3 separate regions of the Homo sapiens genome follow, and regions 1 and 3 are each linked to region 2. Evidence: promoter capture Hi-C in 16 types of primary human blood cells and fetal thymus (Javierre and others, 2016). All regions are on one chromosome and are shown on one strand. Each heading gives the region's core, a stretch centred on a gene start or on the middle of the fragment in contact. The rest is flanking DNA. Distances are from core to core; before and after follow the strand shown. Region 1 overlaps CSRNP1 (cysteine and serine rich nuclear protein 1). Region 2 holds the start of XIRP1 (xin actin binding repeat containing 1). Region 3 overlaps LOC102724104 (a long non-coding RNA gene).

Region 1 (2,700 bases), core at 23-2,522, 51 kb before region 2:
TAGGCCAGACTCCAAACTATGAGTCCTCTAATGGCACTGATATGGCCATGTGGTCATGACCATGCATGTCCAGAGGCAAGAGACAGATACCTGAAGGGTGACAGGACAGGCAAAAAAAGGATTAAACATTCAGAGAAAGAATGGCAGAAACATGAAAATCAATGCAAGTTGCAAACATACACAGGACTTGCATGTTCCAGGCACTCTTTAAGGGCTTTGTAAATATGAAATAAACAAGTTTATGAGGTGAGTAGTGTTACTGTTTGCATGTAGTATTGAGGACACCCAGGCACAGAGGGAGTAATTTGCACAAATCACCTCACTAGGTAGCAGAAAATCTGAGATTCAAGCCCAGCATTCTGGCTCTGTGCTCTTACCAGTTAAGCCAAAGAGATGAGTGAGCCCAGTACAGACCAAGGCAGAGAATTAGAGCAAGGAGACCCAAATCAGTTCTCCTCTGGCGGTTCCTCCTTCCAGCTCTTGTACAAATCACTATCATTCCTAAGGGGGAAGTCAACCTTTCTCAGGCCCCCAGACTGGGGCTCCCCAGAGCAGGGTGTGGCCTACTCCTCTGGCCTGCTGCCCAGCTGAGCTGCCAGGGACAGGTCAGACAGGTCTGGCTGGTGCAGAGGGATGAGGTTCTGCAGCTTCCCCCTGCCCTTTCCGCTGCCCCCCTGCTCAAGTCCCCAGGGACCACAGCTGCTACGTAAGGCCATCACCAGGCCTTGACCAGGCACATGCCCTTACCCTGCCTCCACCCAGGTTGGTGAATTCACCCTCAGGACAAGGCCTCAGCTCAGTGTGGGTGTGTAGGAAGAAGGGTGCCCTTACCCATCCCCAGCAGATAGCCCCATGTCAGAAGACCCTGGTGCTGCTCCTCCCCACCACCCCAGGTCACCACTGTAGAGGAACAGGTTACTCCAAAGGAAAAACTGCTCTATCTGCCTGGCCAGCCTCTCAGCTGGCTTCCTGCCTCCAACTTGACTGGCTTGCCTGGAAAGAGGCCCAATATGCTGGGTGTGCCTACTCCTACCCCTCAACACAGCCTGTGTCCATACTCCCCTCTGCAGGGCTTGTCCCCCATCCCCTTTGCCCCTGCTTCCCACCCCACAAATACATACCACATTGCTAAAAATAAAGCCTCTTTATTGGTACCTGTAAGCTCAGGTACAAGGTGTTCCCACAAGCACACAGGCTGGCAAGGCCTCCTGGGCAAGGGGCAGGCCCAGAGCCTGCGTTTCTTGGCACAGACACAGAGAGAAATGGAATAAATTATAGTTCTGACACTCAGGGACAATGTAGAAATTATGATGCAAAATTAAACATTAGCAAACAAAGGGTATAAAAACCCTCAGGAGCCACCCCTCGCCAACTGGCCTCAGGGCATGGGCAGGTGGGCCACGCTGAAGTGCAGTGCCCAGAAAGCCCTGAGATAATAGTCTGGGGCATGGTTCGCGCCCCGAGGTAGGCCCTTTGCCCTCTCTGGGCTTCCTGTTTCCTCCTTCCCCCTCCTACATCCCTGGGCCTGGAATAAAGGCTGTGGCCTTTGGGAAGGGGGAAGATGGAACAGAGGGCAGGAAGTGGAGGGGGCAGGGTGGGGCAGAAGGGAGTTTTGGTCACAGCTGTTCAGCCCAGGCTCTCCCCCTGCCTAGATGATGTCCTTGGCCAGCACCTGCCCACAGAGCCATCTAGGAGCCAGGCAGCAGACATAGATCACAGAGCTCAAATCCACACCTAGTCTGCACCAAAGCCCAGGCAGGGCAAGGTGTAGGACTACAAGGCAAAAGGGGCTCTTGAGGGCCTGTGCCCACCCCACCCCTGGCATTACCCACCAGCCAAAGAAGTGCAACCAAAGCCTCCTCAATCTCCAAATAAATTATGGAAATAAATTATAGTCTTCACAGTCCAGTGGATTTAGCCACCCATGGGTCTAGGGCTCAGGGTGGCAGAAGCCACCTGATTTCAGCCCTGTCTCACCGTCTTTGGGCTAAGGAACATCACGCAAAGACCGAAAAGTGGTCTGCCAAGCTCCAGAGGAGCCACATTTTCTCCTCTTCCAGGCTCACGTTGTGGAGATAGAAGAGCAAGCTGTGGGTGTGGGGGGCCGGGCAGCTGAAAGGGGAAGCCCCCTCCCCCCAGTCCTCTCTTCAGCACAGAAAAGTTAAAACAAATAAATAAATCCAGAGAATTGTTTGAAAACCAGGAGTGTGCACATGGCACCTGTGGGTGAGCCAGCCAGTGGGAGACTGTTACGCAGACTCTGGGGAGCCCCATAATTACAAGAAAGCAGCAACAGGTCTCTTGGGGCTGGGAAAAGACATCCTGGTCCTCACACCGGCACAGGCTCCATTAGAGATGCTGGGACAGTGTCCTCAAACTGGCTGTCAATAAAGGGATCTAGGGCTTCGGCGGCTGGCTCGGAGAAGCCCATGAGGGACTCCAGGAAGCAACTGCTGGCATCCCCAGGTGGAGACAGGCCAGGCAGGGGGAAGTGAGGTGCCTCGATGTTGTCCAGGCTGTCAGACACCTTCTGTGATGTGTAGTGAGGCCCCAGACTATAATCTGGCAGAGCCTGGAGTAACTCAAAGGAGTCACAAGAAGACAAGCTGAGATCCACTGAGCTACTCCGGCCAGCGTCCATGCTGGGTGGCACTGAGGTGCCAGGAAGGCTGCCTTCCCTTGACCCTTCAAGGCCACCAT
Region 2 (2,700 bases), core at 145-2,644:
CTGAGTCTCATCAAAGCTCTGGGTGGTTTTCTTTCATTTCTGAGCTCCAATGAGGATCCCCTGCCCAAGGCAAACCTGAGCCTGTCTCCACCTCTACTCCATCCTGTCACCACCAGGGTGGCCTGAGCAGATGGTGTGTGCACACCATCAGCTTCACCCCACCCCCGCCCCCAGGAATTTCCAGAATCTCTGCTAAGGCCACAGACAGTTATTATCATGGAGTCCAGGGATGTCAGGCCTAAGGACCCTCAGAGGTCACTCAATCTAAACCCCTTATTGTTCAAATAGGGAAACAGAGGCCCAAAGAGGGGAAAGGAGCTGTCCAAGGAGGCTCAGCAAGGCAGTAGCAAAGCCTGAAGCATGTCTCCTGACTCCTGGCCTTCCCACCACCATCTTTGCCTGGCTTGAGACTGCTGGGACAAGTGTAGAGTCAGGACAGAATTCATAACTGGGACCAGACTTACGTGGGGTGAGCCCCAAGAACTGTCCTAGAGCTTGGTCTCCTAGGGCTGGGCCAGCCTCTCAGGATGGTCCCCCTGCTGTCCTCGGGTCACCTCCTCCTTGGCCCAGCTGGCTCCATATGTCTTTACATCTGGGCAAATTCAGATCTGGTCTCCCTCCCGTGAGCCCCCCAAATCTGCCCTGGGGGCTTTCCCACTGGGCAAGACTATGGACATGGGCAGAGTCCGAATTCCACCCCAGGTTTTAGGCTATGATATGTAGGGAGCTGGGCTCCGGCCAGCCCCTGGGAGCTATCCCTGGGCCAGATATGCCAAGAGTGTCATCCACAACAACTAGGCATGGGGCTTGTTCTAGCAATGCACACTCAGGCCTACTTACAGCCCCCTGCCCCCACCTCTCTCCTGTTCCTCCTTCCTCCAGATCCTGGGCCTGCCTGAAGCTTCCCTGGGAGGAAGCCCTGAAGCCTGAGGCACTCCATACCTGTATTTTAAAAATCACAACTCCAGGCCTTTCTGGATCATGCCAGCCTGGCAGGAGCCTATCCTTTCTGCTAGCTTCAGGCCTGTGGCAGCCACTCTGAGAGCTCCCATGGGGCTCACACTGTCTTTACCTCCTTTGTGGGTTCTTTATGTCTGAGACTTCCACTCACCTCCTCCCATGCATGCCCCTCAATCTCCTTCCCCTACTCAGAGCCATTCCTAATACGTCCATTTCAGAAGGAGAGGGGATCCCAGCTGTGAAAGCCAGCCTTGCTGTGGAAGGATGGAGAGGTAGGTTACTCACCAAGGGTCTCTCTTGGCTGATGGGGTGTTTGTGGTCTGTAGCAGCTGTGGTCTCAGGGTTCGTCGTTCCTCTGGAGGTTCTTGTTCAAATTGGTTCTGTTCTGCTGGCTCCAACAGACACCTTCTTGCTGCCCTGGCTCCAGGTCTCTGTCCCCTGCCAGCCCCAGCAGCTGCCTTTATCTTGCTGGCTAGTGGGTGGGCCGTGGTGGGGGCGGGTGGGAGAGGCTATGTTCCGAGTATTAAGTGGTTCGGTTATTTTTAGGTCTTGTGGAAGTCACTCTTCCATCCTGGGGAATCAGTTACATGTCCTTTGGGCTGGGGAGGGGAAACAGAGGGGGAGAAGCTTCATTCATCCAAAGTCTGATCTGGGGATTGGGGTCAGTGACTCAGCTGGGTTGTGAGGTTGGGGGTGTCCCAGACTATTTTGAGAGAGTGACTAAGAAGAGGCATCTGACACCTTGGACAGCTTGCTCCCGTCTTGTGAGCCCCCATCATTCTACTCTGGCCCTGCCTCTGACTCTTCCTGACGTGTCTCCACCCACCGTGCCAGGAGACTGGAGGTCTCCTGAGGGCAGGCTGGGCACCTCCTCCTCTGTTCTGAGCCTGGATACCTCTGAGTGTGATGCTCAGCTCTCTTTCTTCCCCATTCCCTTCTGCACTAAAGAGTTCCTTCTTTCTTATCCATTCCACCCTGTGCCCCACAGCACAGGTCAACACAGCCCCGATGAAGCTGGATTTGGGGGGAAGACATCTGAATGACCAGGCCCAGCTCTTCACTGGGCCGAGATTGGCCAGGCCCAGCTCCTCCTTTGCACCACTACACCCAGTTAATTTTTGTATTTTTAGTAGAGATGGGGTTTCACCATGTTGGCCAGGCTGGTCTCGAACTCCTGACCTCAGGTAATCCACCTGCCTCGGCCTCCCAATGAATGAATTCCACAGCAGGACTCTATGGTTTTCATTCCAGATTATCTGAGTCCTTTCTTCTCGACTCTTCCCTCTGACTCAGGGCCCAGGCTTTCTGGGAATGGAGGGGAGGGGAAGGGCGGCATGCAGGGAGCTGACCGTGGGGTTATTTCTGACCCTGGAGTCATCAGCTTCCCAGTCACAGATGGAGTGGCGGCGGGGGTGGGGGGGTCACACCTGCCTCCTCCTTTGCTTACCAGGGCGTGAGGGGCCCAGGAGGCCCAAGAGATCCTGGCAGTCAGACCAGTGTGGTGAAGGATGTCAGGGGACCATCTGCAAAAAACTCGAAAGAGGTGTTTTGTCCTAGGTGGGCCTGGCCCAGGCTCCATGCCTGTGGGTATGCAGGTGCATTCTGTGGCCTGGCACATGAGGTCTTCCTTCTGACTCCCCAAATGCCCTCTGGTACCAGGGGGTGATGCCAGACATTGCTCACTTTTTCCATGTAGTCAATGTCAGTCCTGCAGCGTCAGCTGGGATGGGGGTAAGGACA
Region 3 (2,700 bases), core at 14-2,513, 57 kb after region 2:
AGACCATCCTGGCTAATACGGTGAAACCCTGTCTCTACTAAAAATACAAAAAAATTAGCCGGGCGTGGTGGTGGGCACCTGTAGTCCCAGCTACTCGGGAGGCTGAGGCAGGAGAATGGCGTGAACCCTGGAGGCGGAGCTTGCAGTGAGCCGAGATCGCGCCACTGCACTCCAGCCTGGGCCACAGAGTGAGACTCCCTCTCAAAAAAAAAAAAAAGAAAGAAAAGAAAGACAAAAACAAAAAACAAAAAACAGCTTCATGGAAAGAGTGTGGCTGGGTAGTAATGTGGTACTATGTTCAAATCCCAGCCTGGGCCACTTTCTACTGCTAGGACATACGTAACAATGATCACCCTCACCACTACCACAAACAGTGTGCGTGGAATTTGTGCCATGTGCCAGGTCCAGGTCTAAGAAGTTCTCAAATACTAATTCATTTAATTCTTACACTGTGAAGTTAGCCGTTATTATCACTCTCATTCTACAGAGGAAGAAACTGAGACCAAAAAGTGTGAAGAGCTTGCCCAATGTCTCACAGCTGGTGGGTGGAATGACTGGGATTTAAACCAGGCAGTGTCCTTGGGAGCTCCCACCTGTCACCACTGCACCATAGGCTCTTTCAGATGGACGTGGGCTGACTTTCCAGAACTGGAATCTTGTAACTTGGGCCTACTATTAAATTTCTGTCTGGATTCATCAGGCACCCAACTTAGCCATCATGGCCATGCCATCAGATGTGGCTTTTAAGGATAAGAGTTATGGTAAAGGCAACTGGCTGGTGGTTGGGTTTTGAGAAGAGGCCAGTCCATGGACATATTGATCTTTAATGCCCTCAAGCAAAGCATGTACATAGTTTACCAAGAGTGGTTACCCTTATGATTGGACCATTGCAGATGTGGTATCTGTAAGGGCAACTTTTGAAGGAATCAATCCCAGTCCACAAAATGAGAGATGCTTTATAAGGGATGAAATAAAGTTTCATTGAATTTAGTTCTGGGTGGCAGGTAGGTCTGCTAGCAAGTTCCGAAAGACCAGCCGTTTTCTTTGAGTTATATGCGCCTGAAACTCCTCCTCGTAAACATCTGAGGCTCACTCACACCTCAGTGATGAACTGCCACCCTCCTCCACTGAGAGCAGGAAGAGAGCACCCAGAGTGGATACCATGACAGCTCAGCCAAACAGGCTCTCTGCCAGGAGGGCTGAGGCAGGAACCCGTCACATAGACACTCTCCAGGAATGAACTCAGGAAAGATCATGCACTTGACTTGGTCAACCTGAAGTCATACCCTAAAACCTCTTTGTTAGCCTCTTGCAGGTAACAGCCACCACAATGGTGTGACCCGAATGATGCTGTGACTAATTTCTCAGACTTTCAGGACTGCCCTGTGGCTGGGTACCTATCACCAAAAGCCATAAAGGGCTGCAGACAACATTGCTAAGATTACTTTAGCACAATGCCTGTATTCAGCAGACACACACAGATGGTAGTTCCTTTCTTTGAGTCAGTTTGTGCTGGGATGCTGACATTTCCCCAGACGATGCCACCCTTTTGGGTGTGCATAATTTCCTAGACTGTCTCATCCTGGGCCATGTTCCTTGAATTAGAAATAGAAGGGAGGGGGTCAGGTCATCCTTCAGGGTGCACAGCTCCTCTCGTGTCCCATCAAGGGTAGCAGTGTCCCTGCTGGAATAGCCCCTCTTAGTCCTCTCCTCTTAGAGCCTCGGAAACTTAATTTCAGAATAAGACATGGCTTCTTCTATTCATTTTTAGAAAGGTGCTATTTGGATTTTGCACATAGCTGTGAAAGTAAAAACAGGATTTATAATGCTGGAGATTGAGGAAGAGTTTTGCAACTCAAACCTCAAAGGAGAAGTATTGGCTTCCTCAGCTTCCCCCTGACAAGGGAGATTAATGTCATTCCACTATGCTAGTGACTAGCCAGCAGAGGGAATTAAAATAGATCTTTGTTGTGCCGGGCAGGAGGAACAAATGTTGGAAGCTCCTAGAGCTGCTCTCTTCTCAGCTCTCTTCTCTGCTCTCTTCTCTCTTTAGGAGCTGACAGGTGAAGGCTGGATGCTGATTAGCAAGGGCTTCCTAGCCTCCTGTGGGAAGTAAGCCAGGGTGGAAGCTCAGGCACAGGTCCTCTAAGTAGGGGGGATGGCTGTGGTTCTGAGGGAGACTCCTGCTTGGCCCACACTTCCTGAAGGTTCAGTGTGGGGAAGCAGAGGCATATGGAGGCATCAGCCTCGGGCCTTCCCTCACTCACATTTAGGGCTGCACACGGTGCCCCACCCCACCCATCACCCACCCCCCCTGCCCAATGCCATTTCTCCCCTCCGCCTACCCCTCTGTGGCCTTTCCCCTTCCTGGAAGGGGACTGTGGCTGGAGGGCAGATCTGAGAGGAGACCTAAAAAGAAAGAAAATAGGAAGAAAACGAGGGGGAAAATAATAAAAACAGGAGGCTTATTGAAGGAGGGAGGAGCAGGGGAGAGTGGGAGCATGGGGAGCAGACAGTTTGTTCCAGCAGGCTGGATGTTGGGAGGAATATGATGGGGGCTCAAAATAAATAAGACTAGCTCTATTCTCAACACTTCTATCAGAATTAGGCAAATCCTTAAATTCTGTGACAGCCCAATGGCAGATGTGAGAAGGTGCCCTCAGAGCTCCTCAGAGCTCCGACTGTCAGAAGAACTTGACC

What was found. Contacts are between HindIII fragments. The CHiCAGO score rates a contact against its expected background, and 5 or more counts as called.
Region 1: a fragment that was not itself captured here is called in contact with the fragment with the promoter of XIRP1 in region 2 in 1 of 17 cell types (activated CD4 T cells); the score reaches 7.9 in activated CD4 T cells.
Region 3: a fragment that was not itself captured here is called in contact with the fragment with the promoter of XIRP1 in region 2 in 2 of 17 cell types (total B cells and naive B cells); the score reaches 5.6 in total B cells.

Annotation. Positions count from the first base shown.
Region 1 is chr3:39,140,726-39,143,425 of GRCh38, forward strand. It overlaps CSRNP1 (cysteine and serine rich nuclear protein 1), which reads right to left. Exons shown (of 5, transcript NM_033027.4): 5 at 1,130-2,700. The coding sequence ends at 2,330. Among named protein-coding and RNA genes, the nearest start is that of MIR6822, 3.9 kb to the left of the region's middle. The HindIII fragment of the contact is 8,062 bases long and covers 1-2,700 here.
Region 2 is chr3:39,191,201-39,193,900 of GRCh38, forward strand. It overlaps XIRP1 (xin actin binding repeat containing 1), which reads right to left and starts at 1,395. Exons shown (of 2, transcript NM_194293.4): 1 at 1,246-1,395. RefSeq lists an enhancer at 166-1,155. The HindIII fragment of the contact is 686 bases long and covers 900-1,585 here.
Region 3 is chr3:39,248,386-39,251,085 of GRCh38, forward strand. The region is part of intron 2 of LOC102724104 (a long non-coding RNA gene); the gene reads left to right. Among named protein-coding and RNA genes, the nearest start is that of CX3CR1, 30 kb to the right of the region's middle. The HindIII fragment of the contact is 9,853 bases long and covers 1-2,700 here.